Regions from separate parts of the Homo sapiens genome. Here all the other regions are linked to region 1. Evidence: promoter capture Hi-C in 16 types of primary human blood cells and fetal thymus (Javierre and others, 2016). All regions are on one chromosome and are shown on one strand. Each heading gives the region's core, a stretch centred on a gene start or on the middle of the fragment in contact. The rest is flanking DNA. Distances are from core to core; before and after follow the strand shown. Region 1 holds the start of TEP1 (telomerase associated protein 1). Region 2 holds the start of RNASE3 (ribonuclease A family member 3). Region 3 overlaps LOC100507513 (a long non-coding RNA gene). Region 4 has its middle 39 kb from the start of RNASE1. Region 5 has its middle 18 kb from the start of RNASE1. Region 6 holds the start of EGILA (EGFR interacting lncRNA).

Region 1 (4,611 bases), core at 1,319-3,818:
TGCCTCAGCCCCCCAAGTAGCTGGGATTACAAGTGCCTGCCACCACACCCAGCTAATTTTTGTATTTGTAGTAGAGACAGGGTTTCACCATGTTCATCAGGATGGTCTCAATCTCCCGACCTCATGATCCACCCACCTCAGCCTCCCAAAGTGCTAGGATTACAGGCGTGAGCCACCGCACCCAGCCTAATTGTTTCTCTTTACTGAAATACAACTCCTTAAGGTAAGGGCTCCTTTGTCTTGCTCCCCTCTGCATCTTCAGCATCATACACAAAACCCGACTTCCGGTCACCTCCCAGCATCATCTCTCACTAACACCCCGATCTAACCCTCAGCACTCTAAGCTTCAATCATACAAATTTTATTTAGCTTATTAATTGCCAAGGTATCTCTTGACTACGGGCCTGTGCACAGGCAGATCCCTGGAACACTCTTTCTTCTACCAATACCACCCCTCCTTTACAAGGCCAAATGCTACTTTCCTCTCACTCTACAGACTTCAGTTTCATCAACTCCTCCAAAAAGCCTGTGCTGACACCAAGCCCCAGTCTGATTTAGGTGGCCTTCTCCTTGTTTTCACAACACCCATATGTCCCCTATCATAGAGCACATCACCTGTTTGTCTTTCTTCCCAATAGACCATTAAGTTCCTGAGGAGAGAGACCCTTTTAGCCTTGTTCCCACAATTGCTGGTCAGCGGGATTCAGAGGCTTTTGAGAATCTGGTAAAAGCTATGGAGCTTTTTCACAGAAAAAAAAAAAGTATATACTGTTTTGTGCTCAATTTTCAGAGTGTCTATGAAGCCCATTTATGGACCTCCCAGGATCTCCATAAACTGAAAATTAGAAACCTCTGCCTAACAGAATGCTTGAATTATACCATCAGGAACCTATTTTCTGGCTGGGTGTGGTGGCTCACACCTGTAATCCTAGCATTTTGGGAGGCTGAGGTGGGAGAATCACTTGAGGTCAGGAGTTCAAGACCAGCCTGGGCAACATAGTGAGACCTCTATTTAAAAAAAAAAAGGAATGTATTTTCTTACTTATTTGGACAAAGGCTAATCTCTCATTCATATGTAAATATTTTGGGAATAATATTGTTAAGTCAACCACCTAAACTTAGTGTGAAAAAGCTTAGGGACAAAAGTACAGAACACTTCCAAGAAGACCTGAATGACTAACAATCCAGGGCCAAAAAGGACAACAATATCTCACTGGACGTCAGTGTGACAAACACGTAAAAAATGATGGCTTCTGTGCCCAATACACTTTGCTCATGTCGTTGCCCTATATAAGCCCCCAAGGAAAGGAGTGGGGAAACTCAGAATTGACTCAGATTTTTTTTAAAAGAGATCTCAAGCCAAAAATAAACAGAAAAATAAGGACAGTTTATTTGAGCAACATAGTGAGACTGTCCTATCCTTAAAAGGACAGTCTCACTATTTTGCTCATTTTATTGTTTTGCACCCTGGAGTTTTTGAAAGGAGATTCGGCTGAACCACAAATGGAAAGTTAAAGTTCCGTCCCCACTTCCATCTCTAGTTCCCTTCTCTGGAAGTAAACATTGCTCACAGTTTTATACTAACAGTTTCACAGTTTCTATGCATATGCAAATACATGCCTTCACCATCACCACTGCTTTTGCTTTTGCTTTACACAAACAGGATCATAAGTTAGATGCTATTCTGCACTTAGTATATCTCAGAGACCTTGCCCTGTTAACACATTAATACCCACCTCACTCTTTCCTTTTTTTTTTTTTTTTTTTTTTGAGGCGGAGTCTGGCTCTGTTGTTCAGCTCACTGCAATCTCTGCCTGCCGAGTTCAAGCGATTCTCCTGCCTTAGCCTTCCGAGTAACTGGGATTACAGGCGCCCACCACCATGCCCGGCTAATTTTTTTGTATTTTCAGTAGAGAGGGTTTTCACCATGTTGGTCAGGCTGGTCTCAAACTCCTGACCTCAGGTGATCCCCAACCTCCGCCTCCCAAAGTGCTGGGATTACAGGCGTGAACCACCGCGCCCGGCCTCCACCTCACTCTTCAAGTGGCTGTATGGTAGTCTAGCACATTTAAGCACAGTCTGGGTTTCTATTATCACAAACGGTTCTCATACTACCATTTGTTGGTGACAGCCACTGTCCCCTTTCGATGGGCACACAGGGCAAGGAAGTAAGAGGGGATGATTCTTACGTGGTCTCTCTTCCTGTCCCTCCCTCTCCTTCAGCCTTCTCCTCCTCCTTTCTCACCTCCCCTTTCACGCAGTATACACTCCCTCCCCTTCCCGGAGCCGCCGGGAGGAGCAGGGTGGATGCACCCCTAGCTGAGTCTCGGGTGGTTCCTAACCGGCCCCGCCAGGCACTTCCCACCCAGCTCTCAGCCTCAGAGCCCAGCGCCCTAGACCCAGGGCCAGGGCAAGTTCTGCCTGCGCTCGGACCCTACCTTAGACTGGGGCTGGAAACCCTGGGTGCCTGACCTGGGGCGTCCGATTCCCGCAGCAGGAAGCAGAAACTTCGCTCTGGATTCTGCCGGTGGGAAGGGTGGCAGCCGGGGGAGGAGCCGGATGCGGATCTGAGAAGAGACGGTGCGGGCGGAGACTCTCGGGCCCGGGCGGGGCGCAGCAGCTGCTGGAAGGGCAGCGAGCCGAGGGCCGGGCAAGACGACATGCCAGGGCTGCGACGCGAATGCCCAGGACCCCTGCCGCCTTTTCTGGGGCCCGAGTTTAGTTTGTTATTGTTTCTATTTTTTTTCCCTTTCTGGTCCTATTTTCTCCTGTCCCTAGGGCTTCCCCCTCTACCAAATTCGTCTCCTCTGGCTAATTTTCGTCTTTTTTTCTCCCATTAACTCTTCAAACACCGTTTCCTGGAAAAGATTTTAGCATGCTCGCTGCCTAGCTGTACACCTCTCCTTCCTAATATCAAAGACGGTCAGACTCAATTCATCCTAAAGTTCCTTTGAGGAACTCCTTAAAAGGAGACGGAAAGCGGAAAGCAACCGCCTGTAACCAAGTGTAGACATCAGTCAATCAAAGTTCGCTGAACTGAGAGCAAGTGCCTCCCCTCCTGTTGATCAGAAGAGAGATCCGTGGATCACACAGAATCTATCTGGAGCCATCCTGAATGATTAATGCTGAACCCTTTCCAGGAAGATGGAACCAGGCTTAGGAAAGAGACAAGTGACCCTTAGGTTAATAATCCTAGCTTCATAAAGAGAGGACCAAACATAGTAGCAGGAGAAATATGCTTTCTGCCTTTATATAAAGCAGATTAGCTGTCTTCTGGAAAATATCATTGCTTTCCTTAGAGAGGTACCCTTGAGTCTCAGGTAACAGCTGAGCTTCCGCTCAGAATTGAGGGCATTCTGTCCTCTATTAACTGAGCCAGTACCCCTTTCCTTCCTTAGAAACCTCTATTGCCACCAGTCCCAACACTCCCTGCAATGGTCTTTATGTTTGTGTCTCCCCAAAATTTATATATTGAAACCCTAATCCCAATGCGATGGTATTTAGGGTGGGATCTCTGGGAGGTCATTAGGTCATGGAGTTTAGAATACTCATAAATGGGATTGGTGGCCTCATAAGGAGAGACGGAAGAGCTAGCTAGCTCTTTTTCCACGATATGAGGATACAAGAAAACAGCCATCTGCAATCCCAAGGAAGACCCTCATCTTCAGAGGCAGACCATGCTGGCAATCTGATCTTGGACTTCCATTCTCTAGAACTGTGAGAAATAATATTTGTTGTTTAAGCCACCCGGTCTACGGTAATTTGTTATAGCAACCTGAACTAAAACATTTCCTTTTTATAACAAATATTTTAAAGCTCTTTTTATTTTTCTGAAACATAATTCGTAAAGAATGTAACTTACCCCCACGCACAATTTTAAACCAAAATTTAAAGACAAAAAGTAGAGACAGGGTTTTGCTATGTTGCCCAGGCTCTCTACCTCCAGGGCTCAAATAGTCCTCCTACCTTGGCCTCCCAAAGTGCTTGGATTACAGGCATAAGCCACCATGCCTGGCCAAAAAATTAGTAAAATCTCTTAAAGAGATATAAAGGAGTCTACGGCCATACCACCCCGAACGCGCCCGATCTCCTCTGATCTTGGAAGCTGAGCAGGGTTGGGCTTGGTTAGTACTTGGATGGGAGATAAAAGGAATACTAGAAAGAATATGACTTATAATTAAATACTATATGTTTAGATATGTAAATGTTTGTGTATAACATTCAAGAAGACACAATGTGGTACTCAGATATATGCATCTGTATATAAAATCACCTGGAATGTAACAGCTACAAATGCAGAATGATACAGGCATTATAATGGCGATTCAAATACCATGAACAGAATTACTGATGTGGTATGATTTTCCAGAATACTAAATAGCTTTTGGCAGATTTTCAAACAAAACAAGGTATGATCATCCCATGATTTTCATGGTAGTTGCATCCCTGGAAAGTTCAGTGTGTATTAAAACTACGCATAAAATGCCTTGTGTTTATATTTAAAATTAAATTATGGTCAGGCACGGTGGCTCACGCCTGTAATCCCAGCACTTTGGGAGGCCAAGGTGGGCAGATTACCTGAGGTCAGGAGTTTGAGACCAGCCTGGCCAA
Region 2 (4,611 bases), core at 1,167-3,666, 480 kb after region 1:
GAAATGTACGCAGGAAATCTACACAAGGGACAATCAGAAAAACCTTATGAGCATGTTCTGAATGCAATTTTTATGGCTGGGAGCAGTGGCTCATACTTGTAATCCCATCACTTTGGAAGGCCGAGGTGGGCGCATTACCTGAGGTCAGGAGTTTGAGACCAGCCTGGCCAACATGGTGAAACCCCGTCTCTACTAAAAATACAAAAATTAGGCGGGCATTGTGTCGAGCGCCTGTAATCCCAGCTACTCAGGAGGCTGAGGCAGGAGAATCACTTGAACTTGGGAGGCGGAGGTGGAGGTTGCAGTGAGATCACGCCACTGCAGTCCAGCCTGGGTGACAAGAGCAAGACTCCGTCTCAAAAAAAAACAAAAAACAAAAAACTCCACAATTTTAAAGGATGAATATGGTTGCAAATTGGGCAGGTTATGGTCTGCTTAAGACACTTCAATAAGTCTGATATGTCATAAGCACAGATGTCTTCAGGAGCCAGGCAGGTGTCATCACTGAACAGATAGGATAAAAGTCAGGAGGGAGAGTGGAGTCAGAGAACAGCCCTGAGCTAGAGCCCCTTCCACAGACGCAGCTGTTACTCAGCTCTAATTGATACAACACCAATGGTGCACCAACCACCATCATGTGATTTTTAAAGATAAGACAGTAATGAAAACTTTTAGTGAACTATTCCAATGTCAAACTTTATCTTCCAAACCAAACATCATAAATAGCACTGTGTATGCTGAAAAGAAGCACTGTTTAGCCAAGTACCTGCCCTGGGGCTGCAGTCTATGTCTTTTGCCTCATACTATAGACACTTAAGTGCAAATGTTTCTAGCCAGTGTGGCTGTCAGCATCACAGAGGGGATACTCTACGTATCATTCACCTTTACATTCTCATCACCTACAAAAATGATCTCCACACAATATACATGAAAAAATAAACTTGCCTCATGATAAAGCTGCTAATGAATGTCGGCCAGAACAGGACTTCAAGGCAGAGCAATATTAGCTGCGCATTGAGTCCTCACCAGGTCACCATTGTGTCCACATTTACCTAAGGACCCCAGTGATAAAATTATTGCATTTCTAAATGACAGGAAAATTGGACGGTAGTAAAAATTAGGCAGATTAACTGTTGGAAGGTATATTATATCATTTAAGGGTCTACTTTCCATTTTCTAATCTCAAAGCTAGACCAGATTTAACATCTGTTAGTACCCAGGCCTTACCTTTGCAATTCACTTCTCACCTCTGTACAATTTCCCCACATCATCCCCTGTGCCCAGAATGCTCATCTCTTCTCTAAATCCCCTGAAAATCCCCTGCTTATCCTTTAGGACCTGCTGAAATAAACTTTTTTTTGAAGTTTTCCTTATTTCTCAAGCCAAGTGATTTCCTTCACCAGCAGTGTCCCTATGACACCATGTTCACACAAATGCTATTACCTCTATCACACTGTAATACAATTATATGTCTACAAGTACTTTCCTGTGTTTCTCTGAGGGCCAAGAATAAATGTATGCTTTGTGTATCAAACTGTACACTTGACCTCTATACTTTCAGGAATACAGTGCTCTGTCCTTAAATGTTCATTTGTAAATACAGAACCATATTCTTGTTAATATCACAAAATGAAACTTACCAGGAAGATGAATGACAACCCCAGAACACACTGTTTTGTAGAAAATACCATAGGCTGAAAAGATCACAGGAATACCGAGTGCTAGGTTGGAATCTTTCATGACACCAAATGTTCATTCATCCTCTGCCAGATTTTACAACTGTCCTCGGTGTGTTTTTAGGTTATGTAACTTTACACAAAGTGGAATCAATAATCAGGGCAAGACTTAAGAGAAAGTGGATCCAATGCAAGAGGAGTAAAGAAAAAAATTCCTCAATTGTATGGAGCAGATTGTTTTAATTATCTACAGAATCTTGTGCCCCAAGAAATTAATAGCTCAAGTTTCCAGCAAGAGTGGTGGATGAGATGGAGAGCATTTATGTGAGAGAGAACCAAGGATATTACTAAAAATGGAAGGGAAGCTGGGTTTCTCCTGGGCAAACAGCCCTCTGTGGCTCTATTTCTCCTAACTACTATGCCTGCCTTCGTGTCATTTAGTCATTTAGGGGCCTGCCAGAGGACAGTTATAAAATCTGTGGTCATTCTGCCGGCAGCGTATAGTTTTCACCCAGAGTCCAGATCCCACCGGCAAAACTCTGTCTAACACAGGATGACTTGGAATTAGAGTCCGTATAGCAGAAAGAGCAGCAGGGCTGTCCTTGGGTATCCGTTGCTCAGCCAAGTCATCAAATAAAAAGGATGATTGCACAAGTGGACCATGTGTCAATCTGTGGGTTTCTGCATGGCCAGACCCACCAAGGGAAGCTTTATTTAAACAGTTCCAAGTAGGGGAGACCAGCTGCCCCTGAACCCCAGAACAACCAGCTGGATCAGTTCTCACAGGAGCCACAGCTCAGAGACTGGGTAAGTCAACAATCCCCAGAGCTGGGACAGGAGGGGCAGCGACAGGGCAGCACCTGAGGGAGAGGTGAGCTGAAGTTAGTGCTTAGGAGATGTGGCACACTTTGGGGACAGGAAGAAAAGGAAATGCGACCCCAGAGTGGCAGCAGAGGGGCCTGTGGGTTGAGACACTATAGAGTGTGTCATAACCGAGACCGGATCGGGGAGTAGTTACTTCTCTTCTTTTCTTACAGGAAACATGGTTCCAAAACTGTTCACTTCCCAAATTTGTCTGCTTCTTCTGTTGGGGCTTATGGGTGTGGAGGGCTCACTCCATGCCAGACCCCCACAGTTTACGAGGGCTCAGTGGTTTGCCATCCAGCACATCAGTCTGAACCCCCCTCGATGCACCATTGCAATGCGGGCAATTAACAATTATCGATGGCGTTGCAAAAACCAAAATACTTTTCTTCGTACAACTTTTGCTAATGTAGTTAATGTTTGTGGTAACCAAAGTATACGCTGCCCTCATAACAGAACTCTCAACAATTGTCATCGGAGTAGATTCCGGGTGCCTTTACTCCACTGTGACCTCATAAATCCAGGTGCACAGAATATTTCAAACTGCACGTATGCAGACAGACCAGGAAGGAGGTTCTATGTAGTTGCATGTGACAACAGAGATCCACGGGATTCTCCACGGTATCCTGTGGTTCCAGTTCACCTGGATACCACCATCTAAGCTCCTGTATCAGCAGTCCTCATCATCACTCATCTGCCAAGCTCCTCAATCATAGCCAAGATCCCATCCCTCCATGTACTCTGGGTATCAGCAACTGTCCTCATCAGTCTCCATACCCCTTCAGCTTTCCTGAGCTGAAGTCCCTTGTGAACCCTGCAATAAACTGCTTTGCAAATTCATCTGGAAGTGTCTGTGTGTCTTCCTCGGCCGCTCTGCTGTCATTTAGTGACAATCTGCTCTAGAGATTTGGGTTTATCATGAATCTCTCCCCCTCAATATCTGACCAAATTCCTTAATTCCCCCATCATCCTTCATGTGATACCTGATTCCAGGCCTGCCTTAAAAAAAAATCCAATTGAGTCAACTTAGCATTGGTCTCCCTAGCCTTAATATCTCCTCTAAGCAATTTTCCATCCACTGACTCCTCCCCCAACACCAACCTATAACTTGTGTATAGATCTCCACTTGTTTTAGTTGTATTCCAGAATTGAGCCCAATTTGATATTGAGGTCCCATTTGATGCTTTATGGTCCGACTATGGTTTTTATTGACATGATTTCTATCCCAAGAAAAAAAGAGCTGCAGTGAATCAGCTGAAAATGCACGTGCTTCATTATGATTTATGAATGATAAATTTTGATAGAATTGAACGTTATGATAGAAAATAGAAAAGAAGAAAGTAGAAAAAGTCAAGAATGCTATAAATAAGGTGAAACCAAGATAAAGAAAAGTTTAGCCTCAGGGATATTTCTTTTAAATGGGCACATCAAGTCTCCAGCTATTAGCAATCGTAATAGAGGTGGAACCAGGGTTTGAGTCAAATGTGCAATAAGATAAATTGTTCCGACAGCAGTAAGGACAGATTGTAATGCTGACTGGAGGAGAGGTGGACATCTTTCCCAAAAGTTCCATGTCCTGGAGATGGGGAGCCGCTGGTCACGTGGGAAGGAGAAGGGGGAGGAGGAGGAGGAGGAAGTGGGAGCACTCATGAAGGTGAGTTGGCTCCTGCCCATTCTGCCCTCCATAGATGTTCCCAATGGCGAGTCAAAGGTTCATTCAACACCTGTCAGGAAGGGCACAGCCTCGAGAATTCAGGATTTGTAGACCCAGAGAGAGAAGAAATGGATGATGAGAGCCGCTGCCCTGGACTCCAACACAGGGCTTCACTCAGGAATCCATGAGAAACAGGGGAGAAAAAGGGGAAGCCCCTTCCTGCAAGTTGTGGACAGGTGCAGCATTCAAGTGATTGTTCCAGGAACAGAGTGGGTCTTTTTGAATGGCCCGACTCAGAATGCAAGAGAGGTACGATGCCATCAGATCTGCACCTTGGTCCTTCAGTCTGAGATTTCTGACTTCTATATTTCTCCTCCTCTTCCAGACCCTGAGAAACAGCAATTTCCATTCCTCAGA
Region 3 (4,611 bases), core at 757-3,256, 460 kb after region 1:
TAGGCTAAGGCTCCTATAAACTTCAATCTCTAGTGAGAGTTTTATCATAAAGTCCAGGCAGCTGTGCTGTCATTGAACATTGAGCATCAGTATCCCCATATCTCTAAAGGGGAATGCTAAGCTGAGTTTTCTGCAGACCACGACCACCAGCTTTTGAGGTAACTTTAGCCTCCTTATGCAGAAATGAGGAAGAAAATCTTGTAGGTGAGGATCAATGATGCACTAGCTGGGCATCAGTGGCAGCCTGACAGTAAGACACTGATTGTTCCTCTTAAGTTGGTGTATGTCTGTCACTATTACCCTACACATTAGCTTGCTCCCTGCTAGCTTATTGACAGAAACAAATGTAAATGCTGCATTAATCAAGTGTATATGTGTCATAAATATTTTCTCTTAGTATGGCCTATACTTTGAAATCCTGAACCTAAGGGTTTTGGGTTTAACCTTTGGTTATCACTCAAAATGAAACACCTATGTTTTCTTGTAGATCTTGTCCAGAATGGCCTGCTGAATCCTTGAAAGCCGTAAGAGAGACGTATAGCAACCTATTCTGAATCAACTTGTTCAATCTAGCAATTCTGTCACTCTAAGAGAATCTTCTCAGCCTCGTACTCCTTTCTTGGACAACCACTACTTTAAAAGCAGGATCATGTTCAATGGCATTCTGGCAATACAGATGTCCATTAAGTAGAAATGCACAATGTCTACTTGTTGAATATCTAATTGTTCTCCAAATTTATTAACAGGATCTTCTATCTTGATAGGAAAAAAAAATTCATATTTTGAAATCTATCTATCTATCTATATAGATAGATAGATATATTTTCTTTCTGAGAATATATATATTTTTTCTTTTTGAGATGGAGTTTTACTCTTGTTGCCCAGGCTGGAGTGCAATGGCACAGTCTCAGGTCACTGCAACATCCACCTCCTGGGTTCAAGCGATTCTCCTGCCTCAGCCTCCCGAGTAGCTGGGATTACAGGCACCTGCCACCATGCCTGGCTTATTTTTGTATTTTTAGTACAGACGGGGTTTCACCATGTTGGCCAGGCTGGTCTCAAACCCTTGACCTCAAATGATCCACCCGCCTCGGCCTCCCAAAGTGCTGGGATTAGAGGCGTGAGCCACTGCACCTGGCTATATATATATTTTTAGAACTCCTTCTTTCCACAGTGTAGAAAGTACACATTACAAAGCTCAGTCAAATGCCAGGAACTTAAACATCCACACATTAGCATAAATTGTTAATTAATTTCTCAAAAAAAGAAAAAAATGCATCTCACTTGAATTCCAGGGAATCAACCTAAAGTATACTGAGATTCCTAAACTGAACCTTAAAACACAAGACACAGAATCAAAAGTCAAAGAACAAAAGGAACATTCTTCAGCAGGAGATAGGGAGCTGGTTTTAGAAACAGGTGGAGATCACCGAGTCTCAGCATAAGCAAAAGCAACACAGAAACCTAGGCTTTTGAAAAATGTCTAAAATACAGCAAAAGAGAAGGCATTCGAATGTTTTTGTGTAGTAATAGCAGGCTACTAATACAGGAATACAGACTATATTAATCCATGACATTTCAGTGAAACAATAAAAACAACTCTTTGGACATCCAGAAACAAAGGATGTTTTATCTAGTTAACTTTTTTTTTTTTTGAGACAGGGTCTGGCTCTGTCTCCCAGGCTGGAGTGCAGCAGCCCAACCTCGGCTCACTGTGACCTCCACCTCCTAGGCTCAAGCGATCCTCCCACCTCACCCTCCTGAGTAGTCGGGACTACAGGCGTGTGCCACTACGCCCGGCTAATTTTTGTATTTTTTGTAGAGATGGGGTTTCACCATGTTGCCCAGACTGGTCCCAAATTCCTGGACTTAAGTGATCCACTCACCTCACCCTCTCAAAGTGCTGGGATTACAGGCATGAACCACTGCCCCTGGCCCCCTTTTTATTCATATGTGAAGACAATAGAAAGACATTCTTCCATCACTAATATTTACTTAATTAACATTTCTGAGTGCCTTTGATATGACAAGCACTATGCTAAGTGCCATATAGGGAGAGGTGAACAAAACAGACAGGTGCTTGTATCCTAGAAAACTTTGCCTCTGCACACCTTGCTTGTGATAATAATTATAGGGCATATGCCAAACACTGAGCTATAAATCTATGAAGGAAGGATGTTGCTTACTTATCACAAGTGATAACCAGTGATACCAGTATCTATGAGCCATAGAAAAAAAGATTGCCTATTTCCCTGACTAGCTCAGAGGGATACAGCTTAATTCAGAAGATAAAACCTTTTCTTTTTTTTTTCTTTGAGATGGAGTCTTGCTCTGTCGCCAGGCTGGAGTGCAGTGGCGCAGTCTCGGCTCACTGCAACCTCCACTTCCCGGGTTCAAGCAATTCTCCTGTCTCAGCCTCCCGAGTAGCTGGGACAACAGGTGCACGCCACCACGCCCAGCTAATTTTTATATTTTTAGTAGAGACAGGATTTCACCATGTTGGCCAGGTTGGTCTTGATCTCTTGACCTCGTGATCCGCCTGCCTCAGCCTCCCAAAGTGTTGGGATTACAGGCGTGAGCCACTGCACCAAGCCAAGAAAACTCTTTCTTTATGGCAGCATTAGGCACCCCCAATAAGAGCCCACTCACATCATCATGATAGACAGAAACACTGCAGGGGGAAAAATGATCTTGCCTTTGGGCACCAGGACATTGGGACCTCCCAAGTAGTCTGCATCAGTGGATCATAAGGACCAACCATTTATCAAATCTGGGAAAGACAAAAGGCAAGCATAAGATTAAAAAGTAATGCAGGTCTTCGCCAGATGGCTCTGCTGCTTAATAAGTAAAATCACAATCACAGAAGGTGATAACCAAGGATAATTAGGTAAACGACCACACTCCATTTAATCACAGTTCAGAAGATCTTCCCTAATTTCTGCTGAAGTCTCTTCAATAATTTCACCTACCTCTGGAAGAAACTAGAGGACTAATGGGAAGAGTCCATTGGTGTTTATGTGGGAAAAGGAAGGTGCAAGCCATTTCAGCTCAAGGAAAGAAAGGAAGGGAGGGAGGGAGGAAGAAAGAGAAAGAGAAATGAGGAAAGGAAGGAACGGAAAAGAGAGAAAAGAAGAAAGGAGGGTAGAAGAAAGAAAGGAGGGAGGGAGGAAAGAAGAGAAACTGACTTTCCAAAGACACAGCTGAAGCAGCAGCTAAGAGGTAACATTATGAAAGTATGGGGTATCATTCTTCAGGATGCAGTGTATTTATTAAATCAGAGGCCTGTAAAGGGTACTGTGTTCCCAATAGGAAGAATACACGGATCCAGGAACCGAGAAGTAGAAGCAGGAGTAGCTCCACTTACCATCTCTCTGATTGACCCACTCAGATATGTTGTGCTTTCATTTCTGTAACTCTAGGCTCTGCAGGGTCAAAGGTCCAGGTCCCCAAAGAAGATGCACCCTTGCCAACTTACACAGAAAGGTCTCATTGAACTGCAAGCTACAGCTTTTCCCAGGACACTTTGGATTTCTCGTGTCTAGGGACCAGCAGACGTGAAGAGGAGTTGCCATACTGTCAAGGCTAAGTAACCTTGATTAGCAGGAGGGAGGTAGGGCTGCTTTTACCCAATAGAGGCAGAAAAGAATTTATGTAGAACCCAAGTAATCTACTTGGGTGCTTTCTGTTACTCCCATGCTCCATTTTAACTGTGAATGTAAGTGTGTAGCCACCTCAGCCTGAGAAAAATATGATTACCAAGGGCTTAACCCTCAGAACTGGTGAGAGGGTAAATAAGAATAAGCAACTAAGACCTAAGGGTAAAGGGAGATTAGAATACATAGTAAAGGAAGGAGTGGATGGGTGCTAGTTACAGCCCCAAGATCTGCGGCATTGACAGTGACTACAGTTTGTTTGTCCACAGTAAACTTCCTCTTAAGTTTCCCTTCAGGAACAGAGACTGGTAGGAAGCCTGGAGGAGTTGTCTCTTGAACCTGTCTGGGGAAGCAGATCTGTGTGGCTCAAGAGGTGGACCTGGCCAGGCACGGTGGCTCACACCTGTAATCCCAGCACTTTGGGAGGCTGAGGAGGGCAGATCACCTGAGGTAAGGAATTCAAGACCAGCCTGGCCAACATGGTGAAACCCTGTCTCTACTAAAAATACAAAAATTAGCTGGGTGTGGTGGCGCATGCCTGTAATCCCAGCTACTCAGGAGGCTGAGGAAGGAGAGTTGCTTGAACCCAGGAACCGAAGGTTGCAGTGAACCGAGATTGTGCCACTGCACTCCAGCCTGGGTGACTGAGTGAGACTCAATCTCAAAAAAAAAGACGGACCCATTCTAAAAAAGTTTCTACATGAGTTTATAAGTACTCGCTTCTGCATGTCTGAAAAAATCTCTGTCTAATAAGAGAGACACACCTCAAAAGTTTTATCAATAAAAAAGGTACAAAAAAGTCAGAATAAAAATAGGACATAAAATCAATGCTATAAATATTAAACAGATTATGAATAACTTTGTGCTAATATATTTGGGAACTTTAGACGAAATGGATAAATTCCTACGTGGGAAAAAACAATCTACCAAAGCTTTCTCAAGAAGAAATGGAAAAGTT
Region 4 (4,611 bases), core at 630-3,129, 430 kb after region 1:
AGGGAATCTGAAAAGAAAGAAACTACTGTAGCATTTTCTGTAAGTAATTAAGTAGGAGAAAAAACATAGATCATTTTTAAGCTTCTAGAGTTATAGCAAGAGTATAGAAATGACCAGACACAGAGGTCCATATATGATTATCTTTTTGAAAATAGTTCTATATTTGAAGTAGTTATATATCAATTAGACGATTGTGTTATGAAGAAAAGGAGGATAAAGACACACACAAAAAAAACTAATGTGACCTATGTTATAAAAATAACATTTTATTTGGAAATTGTTAATGTTTGAAAGCAGACAAAATAAGGATAGCAACACAAAATGCCTTCTGACTTAGTGTGATAATATTCACAATATAGCATTTACCTGGTGAATTATTCATCACATATCATGGTGCTTAGGTTTGCTGGCTCAAGTTGTGACGTTGTTTTCAGAAAAAAAAAAAAGGGGGGGCTTAACGAAACTCATAGATTACTCAGATATAACCTAGAATGATATTTTTTAATATGTAAAGGATAACTGTCACACTTCCTGAAATACAGATGTCAGCATGACCAGTGCAATCTAAGATTTTAATTAGAAGGTTGCTTGGTAAGCGTAGAATTAAAGGGAAAGGAGATAACTGAATAGTTGAAATGCTTTTTGGCCCCAGGCAATTCAGGTGAAGGTACAGCATTCAATGAACCCACAGCCAATTCTACCTCTTTTGTTCCTTGTTTTCATGTTTTATTTTTCATTTTTATTTTTATTTTTTGAGATGGAGTCTCGCTCTGTTGCCCAGTCAACGCTCTGTTGCAGTGGCGCGATCTGGGCTCACTGCAAGCTCCGCCTCCCGGGTTCACGCCATTCTCCTGCCTCAGCCTCCTGTGTAGCTGGGACTACAGGCGCCCGCCACCACGCCCGGCTAATTTTTTGTATTTTTAGTAGAGACGGGGTTTCACCGTGTTAGCCAGGATGGTCTCGGTCTCCTGACCTCGTGATCCGCCCGCCTCAGCCTCCCAAAGTGCTGGGATTACAGGCGTGAGCCACCGCGCCCGGCCTTCATGTTTTATTACTGCCTATCCTTGCCATACCTCATCTGATTCACACACATTTTATTTATGTAACAAAGGTTTTTAAAAATGTATAGGTTAAAATTAGGCAGTGTGGTGAAGGGGAAACTTTTTTTTTTTTTACTGAAATCTTATGAGTTCTTAGTTGGAGAGGAGCCCTGAAACCAAAGACAGATCAACAAGAGAAAAACAAACTTAAATTTATTTACTTGTTTATTTCCTATATACATGGGAGATACCCAAGGAATGAGTAATTCTTGAGGTGGCTTTGGTTTTTTGTTTGTTTGTTTTGTTGTTGTTGTTGCTGTTTAGACAGTCTTATTCAGTTACCCAGGCTGCAGTGCAATGGCGCGATCTCGGCTCACTGCAACCTCTGCCTCCCGGGTTCAAGCGATTCTCCTGCCTCAGCTTCCTGAGAGGCTGGGATTGCGGGCATGCGCCACCATGCCTGGCTAATTTTGTATTTTTAGTAGAGACAGGGTTTCACCATGTTGGTCAGGCTGGTCTCAAACTCCCGACCTCAGGTGATCCGCCCGCCTCAGCCTCCCAAAGTGCTGGGATTACAGGCATGAGCCACCGCGCCTGGCCCTAAACCCACTTCTTTTGTCTGAATTCTCAATTTGCTTGATGCGAGACGGAGACGATGAACCTCGGGTATTTACCCCAGACAAATGACGCCACTTCACAAGTATGTTGCAGAATATTCAAAACCAGAGAATGAGGATGAGCACAAGAATGACTGGGACAAAAGCACATGAATGGGATATTCTTGAGAGATCCCCTAAGATAAAGACAGGATTGGATATGATACCTGGGTGCTCTGGCCTGTTAAAGGGCCAGAGGAAGTAGAAACAAATGAGAAGTAGGTGGAACCAGAAAAAATACACTAATTCCAGGAAACATTCCAGGCAAGTGTATTAAAAATAATGATTTACTGCTTGGATTTGTAGTGAACATGATAATAAATAACAGCACAGATTCACATGGAAATCATGTTAGACTAATCTAATCTCCTGCCTTAGGTAGAATTAGGAAATGTGGAGAATATTTTGCATCTTTACTTCTGCAAAGCACTTGATAAAGTCTCTCAATGCAATGACTACCTTCCTAACTGGTTAAACCAGATCATGTGATGATGTGACACAGACCTGTCTCCACAGGCCTATCTTATTCATCATATTTTCAGGTGACTTGGATGAAGATGCAAAATCTCATCACAATAATAGATGACATGATAGTCAGGGAGAGCAAATAACATGGATGATGGAATCAAGATCCAAAGTTCTTACCAGTCTGAAGCAGTGGATTATATCCAGTAACAAGAAATTTCACAAGTATAAATTTTGTGCCCTTGAAACAAAATCAGTTGCATAAGTACAGGACAGGACTTGGATGCTAACTAATAGTTTGTCATAAGTACCTTTACTTACCCAACATTAATTGAGGGCTTCCCCAGTGTTGAGGTTGTGTTAGGAACTGGGGATACAAGAGTGAGTGAGACACAGTTCCTACCTTCAGTGATTTTGCAGTCTGTTGAGGAATATAAACAAATAAACAGGAAATTATAATGTTACGTGAAAGACTCCTAGAGCTAAGCCAGGCTCGGTGGCTCACACCTGTAATCCCAGCACTTCGCGGGGCTAAGGCAGGCGGATCACCTGAGGTCGGGAGTTCAAGACCAGCCTGACCAACATGGAAAAACCCTGTCTCTACTAAAAACACAAAATTAGCCGGGTGTGGTGGCACATGCCTATAATCCCAGTTACTCGGGAGGCTGAGGCATGAGAATTGCTTGAACCCGGGAGGCAGAGGTTGCAGTGAGCCAAGATCACGCCATTGCACTCCAGCCTGTGCAACAAGAGCAAAACTCTGAAAAAAAAAAAAAAAAGAAAGAAAAGGAAAGGAAAGGAAGGAAGGAAGGAAAGGGAGGGGAGAAGAGAAGACTCCTGGTGCTAAAGATCCCAAAGGAGCACTTTACCCCACTCTGACAGGTTTAGGAAATTTTTCCTATGGTAAGTCACAGCTGAGTGCATACCCAAAGATGAGTAGGAGTTATGTAATGTTGAGGGAAAGAACTTTCCTGACAAATCCAGTAGCACGTCAATGGCCTGTAAACGAGGAGGACCTGGCTCAGTGGGCCCTGAAAGCCCTGGATTGCTTGCGTGGCTGAAGTAGAAGTCTACAGGGGCTGGAGAAGGGAGCAAGGAAGGACCAGACCGAGGAGAGGGGTGAACTGGAATTTAATCCTGAGGAATAAAGACATTTAAATAGGGTGTCAGACTTATTATTTAAAAAGAGCACTCCGGCAGTAAAGTAGAGAATGGATTAAAGTGGGGACCAGCCTGGGCACAGAGAGATTATCAAAGAGGCAATTACAGTAAACGATCTAGGAGAAATGTGGATGGCCCTAAATAAGCCGTGAGAATGAAAAGCAGTGGAAGTTAAAGATATGGAAGAGAGAAAAATCTACAGAACTTGGTGATTGATTGGTTTAGGGCAATGAGAGAAAGGAGGAAGTCAAATAGAACACAGGATTACATTGTCCTGTGTAGCAATTTAATTTTTTTGAACACTCCCAGTAACAGTAAGAGAGAGATGCTAGTATTATGTCTGCTTTACACTTGAGCAAGCTTGGAGAAGTTCACTAACTTGTTTAAGTTCAGGCTAGAAAGGAGTATATATTCGCTATTCAAACCTAGACAAACTAAAATATAGACTGAGCTTTTATTTTCATATATCAAGTACAAGACATAAGAAATAATAATTTTTGAAATATCAATTCCTGTTTAACATCAAAAGTTTTATGATTGTATCCTATTTTCTGAGTCTCAAGTCTTTGTCCGTAAATGTTCACGGATACCCAAAAGTGTTGACATTTGAATCCCAGGTTATAGCAAAGAGGACAATAAAGCGACTTGCAGGATCTTCCTTTGTTACTAATGGAATGTCCAACAGCAGAAGAAGTGCAGAAGTCCTGAGAAATGATGACTCTAGGGATTCTGCTTAGGCAACTCATTTATAAAAATGAGAGTCACAACAGGAACATTTACTATAATCAGAAAGATAAACTCCAAGGTTTTTAAGATTACTTTCAATTAAATGACAGACTGATTTCTGACTTCTCAAGAGACCAGGTAAACCAGAAAACAGTAACTATTATGTTTAAACTACTGGCTGGGTACAGTGGCTCATGTCTGTAATCCCAGCACTTTGGGAGGCCAAGGCAGGTGGATCACTTGGGGTCAGGAGTTTGAGACCAGCCTGGCCAACATGGTAAAACACTGTCTCTACTAAAAATATGAAAATTAGCCAGGTGTGGTGGTGGGCGCCTGTGGTCCCAGCCACTTGGGAGGCTGAGGCAGGAGAATGGCTTGAACCCAGGAGGCAGAGGTTGCAGTGAGCCAAGATCACACCACTGCACTCCCACCTGGGAGACAGAGTGAGACTCTGTCTCAAAAAATAAATAAATAAACGACTGAGAGAAAAGTACAGCCAACTTAAAATTATCTAACCTGCAAAAATGTCACTTTAAAATGAAGGTAAAATAAAACTTTTTCAG
Region 5 (4,611 bases), core at 839-3,338, 410 kb after region 1:
GTGTATTCACACTTACAGGAATTTAAAGCTTTTATTGTAAAGCTAAGGCAGCATGAAGAGTAAGTGCTGTAATTTAATGTATAAATTCATTCTATGTTGATTTCTATAGTAGGAAAAAGCAACTTTGGTCTGTCTGTGGTTCCATCATCAATTCACTGAGTTAAATAGAAAGCTTCAGGAATATAGTATTAACAGAGACCCCAAAATTACAGATAAATCCAGTAATGGAGCTTACAATACAGAATTAGAGGGTGCTAATTAATGAATTTTGGGAACAAGTCAGCAGTTAATAAATATTCATTAGGAAGTTGCAGTATATATTTCTCTAAGTTACCAAGTGACCTAGATATGGAATATTGAAAAAGATAATTTTGTATCTTTTGTATCTTTTTTAATTCCTGCTAAATTAATAGAAATATACTACTTGTATTTTCATCACCTACAACATTATTAACATTTTAGGGTGTAATTCTCCACACTTTTGTCTATGTGTAAGATTTTATAAAATATGAAGTACTGTAACACTGCTTCAGATTCTGCTTTTTCTCTTCAAATGCATCTGGGGTCCTAGTAATATGTAATTTCTTAACCTGGATAGTGGTGAACACAGATCTGTTTGCTTTGAGCTAACTTATTGAGCTATGTAATTATGTTTTTTCTGTGTGTATATTTCAATTTTTTTAAGTTTATTTAAAAACATATCCTAGGCTGGGCTTGGTGGCTCACGCCGGTAATCCCAACATTTTGGGAGACGGAAGCAAGTGGATTGCTGGAGCCCAGGAGTTCGAGACCAGCCTGGCCAATAGAGGGAGACCTCGTCCCTACTAAAAATTTAAAAAATTAGCCGGGCATGGTGGCTCACACCTGTGGTCCCAGCTACTCAAGACCTGCCTGCGCAGTATAGTGAGACCTTGTCTCTACTTAAAAAAAAAAAAAAATTAAATTAGTGGTCCCAACTACTCAGGAGGCTGAGGTGGGAGGATGGCTGGAACCCAAAAGGGTGAAGCTGCAGTGAGCCATGATCAAACCACTGCATTCCAGCCTGGGCGAGAGAGTAAGACCTTGTCACACACACACACAAAAAATTCCATCCTATATATTCCAAGTCAACATATATCTATATTACTCTAAATGGCTCTATAGTATTTCATGTTATGGATATATCATAATTCATTAAACAAATTCTGTATTTGGGGACATTTATAAGATTTACAACTTGTTACATGTACACTGCCTTCAATAAAAACTCTTCTATGTCTGCATTTATACTCTTGTGTCATAGGGCAGATTCTCTACAAAAATAAACACTGAGATTAAGATGTGCATTTAAGATGTTTACTGCAGGCCGGGCGCGGTGGCTCATGCCGGTGATCCCAGCACTTTGGGAGGCTGAGGCGGGCGGATCACCAGGTCAGGAGATGGAGACCATCCTGGCTAACACGGTGAAACCCCATCTCTACTAAAAATACAAAAAAATTAGCCGGGCGTGGTGGCGGGTGGCTGTAGTCCCAGCTACTCAGGAGGCTGAGACAGGAGGGAGAATGGCGTGAACCCGAGAGGTGGAGCTTGCAGTGAGCCGAGATCGCTCCACTGCACTCCAGCCTAGGCGACAGAGCGAGACTCCGTCTCAAAAAAAAAAAAAAAAAAAAAAAAAGTTTACTGCACAGCAATCTTGGGGCAATATCTGCAGAGGGAGTGAAGGAAGCATTATCGGGCAGAAGAGGTAGGATTTTGATGCAGTCACAACAAAGGCCTTGGCCAATCCCACAGGTATTCTAGCTTTCTTTAGAGCTAGATTGACCTTCAGAGTTGTTCTGAATTAAGGTAAAGGGACCAAGCCTTTATATCCCGTTACCATTTATTAGATGTTGACTGCCCTTGGGGAGGAGGCTTCACTTTTAGCAGGATGGTTCTCTGCCACTGTTACACTCTTGCCAATGCACCACAATGTAGTAGTCTCTCGCTGCCCAAGGCATCATCCTAAGTTCTTTGTCTCATGACCAAGAAAGTTAAGGATCCTGGACACCAAGGGTGAGGTTGGAGTGAAAGTTTAATAAGCGAAAGAAGAAAGCTCTCCGCTGCAGAGAGGGGACCTGGAAGAGGACTGTTGTTTCTACAGTTGAATGCAAAGGCTTTTATAGAAAACCCATGAGGGCTGGGAGTCTCCTTTGCATAAGGGGTGAATGTGTCGTAGCCCCACCGTGTCTTCCTAATGTGCGTGCGGGCCCCTTATTGCACGTGTGTCAGGGGACGGAATTTTCCATTGCAGGCATGTCTAAGCAAGTCACCTGGGTCGCCCTTCTCATGTTTGTGGGCGTGTCTTAGGCAAGCCCCTATGCAAATTCCTGTATCTGTGCCTGCAGGCTGTTGTTTTGTTTGAAAGGATTAAACCAAGGACCCACCCTAACTGCCTGCCTGACTGGGTTTTTTCTTTTCTCCTCTGTCAACACAAAGGGCTATTCCCAGAGAGAAAGAGACTCAGCTGAGAGCTAGCTGTTCATCACCATCACTAGTCAGTGGAGGGAATGAGTGCCGTGTTCCTGAAGTGGGGGAACTGGGACATGCACCACCGCATCCACTACACCTTGCCCAATTACTTCCTTGGCATATATTCCTAGATGTGTTTAGAGAACATGGACTTTTGATAAGGCTTTAGATAATGTCAATTGCCTTCTATAAAAGTGGTATTTCAGCGAGGTGGCTCACGCCTGTAATACCAGCACTTTGAGAGGCCGAGGCGGGCAGATCACGAGGTCAGGAGTTTGAGACCAGCCCGGCCAATATGGCAAAACCCCGTCTCTACTAAAAATACAAAAATTAGCCAGGCATGGTGGCGGGAGCCTGTAATCCCAGGTCCAGGGAGGCTGAGGCAGGAGAATCGCTTGAAACAGGGAGGTGGAGGTTGCAGTGAGCTGAGATCGTGCTGTTGCACTCCAGCCTGGGCAACAAGAGCAAGACTCTGTCTCAAAAAAAAAAAAGGTATTTCACTTCTAATAGGAGAGCAAGAGACCATTTTTTCTTCTGTGTCAAACAATAGCGTGCCCTTGCCTGCTCTTTTATCTGTGATTCCACAGCATTTCACACTTTATTATACCATGTCTCACATTCAGTGGGAATTCTTTCTTCTCAGTCTCCCAAATTACACTGTTTTCAAGAACAGAAAGGGTGTTTTATTCACACATATCTCCTGATCATGTGCCATGTATACAGTTGGTCTCCAATTAATACATGTCAAGTAAATTAATGTCTCATTGTAGAAGGCTACGGAGTCACAGAAGATTAACTGACTAGAAACAAAGAAAATACTATACAAAAAATATTAGACATGGTGCAGAATCAAAAGGTGGTTGTGGAAGAAATGGAATGTGTTTTTCATGAAGGAGGAATGTAACTACCCAGTGGTTTCACCTTGCCCACAGCCTAGACAGAGCCAGTTTATCAAGACAGGGGAATTGCAATGGAGGAAGAGTAATTCACACAGAGCCGGCTGTGTGGGAGACCGGAGTTTTATTATTACTCAAATCAGTCTCCCCAAGCATTCAGGGAAGCAGAGTTTTTACTGACAACTTGGTGGGTGGGGGGAAGCCAGTGAGCCAGGAGTGCTGACTGGTCAGTTAGGAAACAAGACCATAGGGAACTGAAGCTGTCCTCTTGCACTGAGTCAGTTCCTGGGTGGGGGACACAAGATCAGATGAGCCAGTTTATCAATCTGGGTGGTGCCAGCTGATCCATCAAGTGCAGGGTCAGCAAAATATCTCAAGCACTGATCTTAGGAGGAGTTTAGGGAGGGTCAGAATCTTGTAGCCTCCAGCTGCATGACTCCTAAACCATAATTTCTAATATTGTGGCTAATGTTAGTCCTACAAAGTGAATCTAGTCCCCAGGCAAGAAGGAGGTCTGCTTTAGGAAAGGGTTGTTATTGTCTTTGTTTTAAACTACAAACCATAAAGCAAGTTTCTCCCAAAGTTAGTTCAGCCTACCCCGGGAATGAACAAGGACAGCTTAAAGCTTAAAAGCAAGATAGAGTTAGTTAGGTTAGATCTGTTTCACTGTCTCGGTCATAATTTTGCAAAGGTGGTTTCAGAAAGGTGTCATGATGTGTACAATATCATCTGAAAAAGAATAAATGAGAAGCCTAGCTCTCCAATAAAAAGGCAACAATTAATGACTGCTACTGTAGAAAGGTGAATTTTCAAAAACAGAGAAGTGGTGTAATAAATATAGCTCAGGTAATATAAAAGGTCAGGGAAAAAAAGTGTGTTTTTTCCCCAGCTCTGCTACTTATAACTTGATGAGACTTTTCGATAAATCTTTTTGGAAGCTCTTAAAAACTACCAATGCCAGCCAGGTACAGTGGCTTACGTGTGTAATCCCGGCACTTTGGGAGGCCAAGGCGGGCAGAACACTTGAGGTCAGGAGTTTGAGACCAGCCTGGCCAACATGGTGAAACCCCTAGTTATAAATAAAGTTTTGGTGCCACAAAAGAAATAGCACTCGAATATAAAATGTTCTTTTTAATTCTCAGCAAGGCAATGTACTTCTATAGAAGGGTGCACCCTTACAGATGGAGCAATGGTGAGCACACACTTGGACAAGGGAGGGAAAGGGGTT
Region 6 (4,611 bases), core at 541-3,040, 290 kb after region 1:
GTTTCCTCACTACACAAGGGTCCTCCATCATTAATGCCTCCTTAATAAAACCTCTTCTTAAAGCTGCTCTACTTCCAAGAAAACTGAGGCCATTCACTGTAAAGGCCAACAAAAGGCATCAGATCCCATCACTCAGGGCAATGCTTATGCTAATAAGGTAGCTAAACAAGCAGCTGGCGTTTCAACTTCTGTCCCTCATGGCCAGTTTTTCTCTTTCTCATCTTTTCACTTTACATTTCCAGTTTCGCCTTACACAAGGTCTCTTCTTCCCCTGTGGCTCCTCCCCTACATGTGTCTACCTGTTAATTAGACAGGCACATGCACACTAGTTTTCCTTACCCCCAAAAATCAACTTGCAAATGGGACCCAAGAGCTTCCTGTTCCCCTCATGACACCAACACTTCACTACTATTTTGTTTTGTTTTTCTTATTATTAATATAAGAAGACAGGAATATGCCCTTGACTTACTCACTGCTGAAAAAGGGGGACTCTGTATATTTTTAAATGAAGAGTGTTGTTTCTACCAAAATCACTCTGGCCTAGTATATGACAACATAAAAAAAACTCAAGGATAGCGCCCAAAAACTCACCAACCAAGCAAATAATTATGCTGAACCCCCTTAGGCACTCTCTAATTGGATGTCCTGAGCCCTCCCAATTTTTAGTCCTTTAATACATGCTTTTCTCCTTCTCTTATTTAGACCTTGTGTCTTCTGATCAGTTTCTCAATTCATACAAAACTGCATTCAGGCCATCATCAATCATTCTGTATGACAAATGCTCCTTCTAACAACCCCACAATATCACCCTTGATGCCCAAATCTTTCTTCAGTTTAATCTCTCCCACCCTAGGTTCCCATGCTGCCCCTAATCCCACTTGAAGCAGCCCTGAGAAACATTGCCCATTATCTCTCCATACCACCCCCCAAAATTTTTGCCGCTCCAACACCTCACCACTATTTTGTTTTGTTTTTCTTATTAATATAAGAAGACAGGAAATGTCAGACCTCTGAGCCCAAGCCTGCAAGTATACATCCAGATGGCCTGAAGCAACTGAAGAACCACAAAAGAAGTGAAAATAGCCAGTTCCTGCCTTAACTGATGACATTCCACCATTGTGATTTGTTCCTGCCCCACCTTAACTGATCAATTAACCTTGTGACATTCCTTCTCCTAGACAATGAGTCTCAGAACCTCCCCACTGAGCACCTTGTAACCCCTGCCCCTGCCTGCAAGAGAATAACCCACTTTGACTGTAATTTTCCACTACCTACCCAAATCTTATAAAACTGCCCCACCCCATCTCCCTTTGCTGACTCCTTTTTCGGACTCAGTCTGCCTGCACCCAGGTGATTAAAAAGCTTTATAGCTCACACAAAGCCTGTTTGGTGGTCTCTTCACATGGACGCACATGACAGGAGCAGAGATATATGAAGATGCTAGCTGCTTAAGAAGGGAAGTGTGAGTGTGTGTGTGTGTGTGTGTGTGTGTGTGTGTGCACATGTTTAAGGGCAAAACTGACAAAACTGAAAACATTTGAATTACAGCAGATACAGAAAGAAATCTTACCTGAACTTCTCTCACCTGACTAAAGCAGAGCCTCCCAGAAATGCCCCCACCATTATCTCCCTCCGGAGGGGTCCTCATGTAATGGTAATAGGTCTTTTGCCTGATGTGCACAGCATGTCAATATGCCAAGACACTGGGTTGCAGCAGAGAAAGAGGTTTAATTGCAGGGCTGCTGAACCAAAAGATGGAAGGAAACCTCAAATCCATTTCCTCAAAGAGTTTGAGGCTGTTGTTTTTAAGGATTTGGAGTAGGTGGAAATAAGAGATCACTAATTGGTTGAAGAATGCAGAGTGAAGTCATGGGACAGAGAGATGAAAAAACAGTATTCTCATGCTGATCAGTTCATCAGTTGGGCTCTTTAAAGTTGGTGGTGTCAGCTGTTCTGCCGGAATTCAGGATCTGCATAAACAATTCTTAAACAAAAGCCTTATGATTCTAATGTCAAAGATCTTATCTATGGGAACAATGAGAATGCAAATTATCAGTAGCTAGTGTTCGTGAGTTTTGGTTACAAGGAAGTGGGTCAAAGTGTAGCCTGATTAACACTTACTCATAATTATATTTTTGTCCAGGATTCTTGTTAACCGTGTGAGGATTACTTCACCCAGACAGGAGATATTCCAAGAAAATTGTGTAAAACTTTATCCAAAGCTTCTATTTGTCTTTCCCAAAAGTCATTTGTTTTCCTATAGAAGTCATTTCTCCCTCCTTCTTTTCCCCTATGAGTTGATAACTAAACTTCTGTCTCTAGCTCTTCATCAAGCCTCTTCATCTGAATGCTTCCACAAGTTATGAATACAACTTGTTTTCTTTCCCCCTGCTAACCTGTCTATAGTTAATTCACAGGCTCCCACCCACTGAACCAAAGTTGGTAGAGGGAAAGTTTTCCCTCCTAATAGCATGTCTGTGTATATTTAGAGTGAGAAAGAAGGATGAAGAGATAATTCGTCTTTGTCACCATCCAGGTAGTCATGGGAGTTGGGACCTGTGGTATAATAAAAAATAAATTTGAACTTAGTTCCTGGTTCCTGCCACAGACCTTCTAAAATGCTTGGAATTTCCTGAGTGATAGTGTAACCAAACTAAGGGTCAGCTGATCACTGCTCACTGCTCAAAAGCAAGACTTGCAAGACAAGAGTTGGTGCAGGAAAAGCAGGTTTATTCAAGAGCTAGCAACCTGAGGAGATGGTGGACTAGCGCCTCAAAGACTATTTCAAAATTTTAGGCTAGCTAAAGGGATTTTAAGAAGTAGGAGGCATGGAAACTATGAGCAGGAGTGGTGCAGGGTGCAGGTTTGCATGTCTTACTCTGATGGCTATCTTCAGTAACGGATCACCTGGAGGTCTGGCTGGCATCACCATGACTGCAACTAGCTTATGGATTAACCCCCCTCAGTGATTTTTCTGAGAATGTAGGATTCCACAATCTCAAATTCATGCCCGGTTTATTTCAAGATTAGCCCCTGGGTTTCTTAAGCAAGGATACGGCTAGATACTGAATAAATCAAAGGGTGAGGCTATTCATTATTGAAGCAGGCTGATTATTCCAGCTACAAACTCCCCACTGCCAATTCCTGTTTCATTTCTATGGGAGATCAGGTGTCAATTTCTTTCTAGCTACTTCCTGCTGAATGAGGGCATCACTAGGGAGCTGAAGAATGGAATTTATTTACCTGGAGTTGGAAGTATTCATGCATTCCTTGACTTATGGAAGTGATTTTTTACAGCATCATTGACCTGGGAGTTAGGAGCCTTTCCAATTAAGGAAAACACAATCTTGCAATATCACACATATGGTGCAACAAGAGTATAACCCATAGAGAATATACCTATTCCTATAATCATAGCTGGAACTACTAGCAGTTTTTTCCACCAAGTAGGTCCGTATCCAAACCATGAAGATAACCACTGGTTTAGGAACATTGTGGGGTCAGACATAGCATTGATTTGTCTGTGCACGTCTTGAAGGGCTAAGGAGATGTTTCGCAAATTACCTAGGATATACACAAAACATTTAGTTTCAATTATGGGTCAAGGTCCCTCCCAGCAGCTGTGAGTACATCAAGGGCCATGTGGTTTTGCAAGACTACTTTTCCCATCATAGTCATTTCAGAGGTTACTAATGAGATGCCCTTAAATGTGTCTTTCAGCACTTGCTATAATTTGTAAGTGCCTCAATATGCCAGATGATGCTTTCTAAGCCTGCTTGGGGGAAAACAAGGGACAGGAGATGGTCGTAGGAAGGGAAAACCGGCCTGGTCCATTGGTGTAACACATCTGGAAAGTGTGCAGGCTGCCTGGTGGTTTTTGTTAATCAGCCCCGGACCTATGGGGGTCCTAACGTGCACTGCCCTATCCATCCATCAGGTAGACATGGCCGAAGATTAGTTTCACATAACTATTGAGTTCCACTGGGGACCAGCCACCAAATTTTGGGTCTGTGTCCAATCAGTGGTAAACAGGTTTGTCTAATATAGCACTAAAGAATGTTCATATTGATGTAGAGGCATCCTATCCACATTTTTAGTAACATTCGGCCAATGATTCTAAGAGTGATTCCTTTGTTCCCAACATGAAGTGGCAATTTGGGTTAAGTGACTAATAGTGGAGATCATCCAGAGGTAATCGTCCCAAATTTGATAAAAACTCACCTACCGTGTAATGGTTATTAGTAGCCAAAATCTTGGGGGCCATCTAGGAAAACTCCTTTAAGAGAGGGATTGCATACTCAGAGGTCCTTTGGATAGTCCGGTTATAATGAAGAGTTTTCCAGGATCTGGATTCTGAAGCGTTATATTAATGCCAGGCCATTTTTAAAAAATATTACCTTAAGTTACCAAGGTCCTGATTTTCCCATGAACAGTTTTTCATATACGTTTGTAAATGTATCTAATCAGTCCCCTGCAGGGGTGATACTCACTAAAGTAGCCCAGAAGTGCTAGAGATGGGTAGCAATCCACATACCCAGCAAGCATCTTAGTGTAGACTATCTGCATAATGTTATGCCCACTGTAGAAATAGACTAGTTTTAGCAGATGTCA

The links. The method cuts DNA at HindIII sites, captures the fragments that hold promoters and counts their contacts. A CHiCAGO score of 5 or more calls a contact.
Region 2: a contact is called between the fragment with the promoter of RNASE3 here and the fragment with the promoter of TEP1 in region 1, in 6 of 17 cell types (total B cells, monocytes, neutrophils and 3 more). The highest score is 12.3, in total B cells.
Region 3: a contact is called between a fragment that was not itself captured here and the fragment with the promoter of TEP1 in region 1, in 11 of 17 cell types (naive B cells, erythroblasts, total B cells and 8 more). The highest score is 11.2, in naive B cells.
Region 4: a fragment that was not itself captured here is called in contact with the fragment with the promoter of TEP1 in region 1 in 1 of 17 cell types (M2 macrophages); the score reaches 6.3 in M2 macrophages.
Region 5: a fragment that was not itself captured here is called in contact with the fragment with the promoter of TEP1 in region 1 in 1 of 17 cell types (naive B cells); the score reaches 5.4 in naive B cells.
Region 6: a contact is called between a fragment that was not itself captured here and the fragment with the promoter of TEP1 in region 1, in 5 of 17 cell types (naive B cells, naive CD4 T cells, M2 macrophages and 2 more). The highest score is 7.7, in naive B cells.

What each region holds. Positions count from the first base shown.
Region 1 is chr14:20,410,933-20,415,543 of GRCh38, forward strand. It overlaps TEP1 (telomerase associated protein 1), which reads right to left and starts at 2,569. Exons shown (of 55, transcript NM_007110.5): 1 at 2,473-2,569. It also overlaps the pseudogene RNA5SP382. RefSeq lists enhancers at 1,407-2,323, 1,433-1,602, 2,153-2,222, 2,723-2,772. The HindIII fragment of the contact is 9,686 bases long and covers 1,131-4,611 here.
Region 2 is chr14:20,888,969-20,893,579 of GRCh38, forward strand. RNASE3 (ribonuclease A family member 3) reads left to right here and starts at 2,417. Exons shown (of 2, transcript NM_002935.3): 1 at 2,417-2,483; 2 at 2,714-3,380. The coding sequence starts at 2,719. The coding sequence ends at 3,201. All of the region lies in intron 1 of LOC100507513 (a long non-coding RNA gene), which reads right to left. The HindIII fragment of the contact is 4,045 bases long and covers 2,383-4,611 here.
Region 3 is chr14:20,867,687-20,872,297 of GRCh38, forward strand. It overlaps LOC100507513 (a long non-coding RNA gene), which reads right to left. Exons shown (of 4, transcript XR_110261.4): 4 at 2,549-2,770. Among named protein-coding and RNA genes, the nearest start is that of RNASE3, 21 kb to the right of the region's middle. The HindIII fragment of the contact is 5,154 bases long and covers 1-4,583 here.
Region 4 is chr14:20,839,108-20,843,718 of GRCh38, forward strand. No RefSeq gene overlaps it. Among named protein-coding and RNA genes, the nearest start is that of RNASE1, 39 kb to the left of the region's middle. RefSeq lists an enhancer at 1,050-1,550. The HindIII fragment of the contact is 3,601 bases long and covers 80-3,680 here.
Region 5 is chr14:20,818,262-20,822,872 of GRCh38, forward strand. No RefSeq gene overlaps it. Among named protein-coding and RNA genes, the nearest start is that of RNASE1, 18 kb to the left of the region's middle. RefSeq lists a cis regulatory region at 2,075-2,658 and enhancers at 2,229-2,523, 3,469-3,763. The HindIII fragment of the contact is 3,836 bases long and covers 171-4,006 here.
Region 6 is chr14:20,705,162-20,709,772 of GRCh38, forward strand. It overlaps EGILA (EGFR interacting lncRNA), which reads right to left and starts at 1,780. Exons shown (of 4, transcript NR_174964.1): 1 at 1,586-1,780. The HindIII fragment of the contact is 860 bases long and covers 1,361-2,220 here.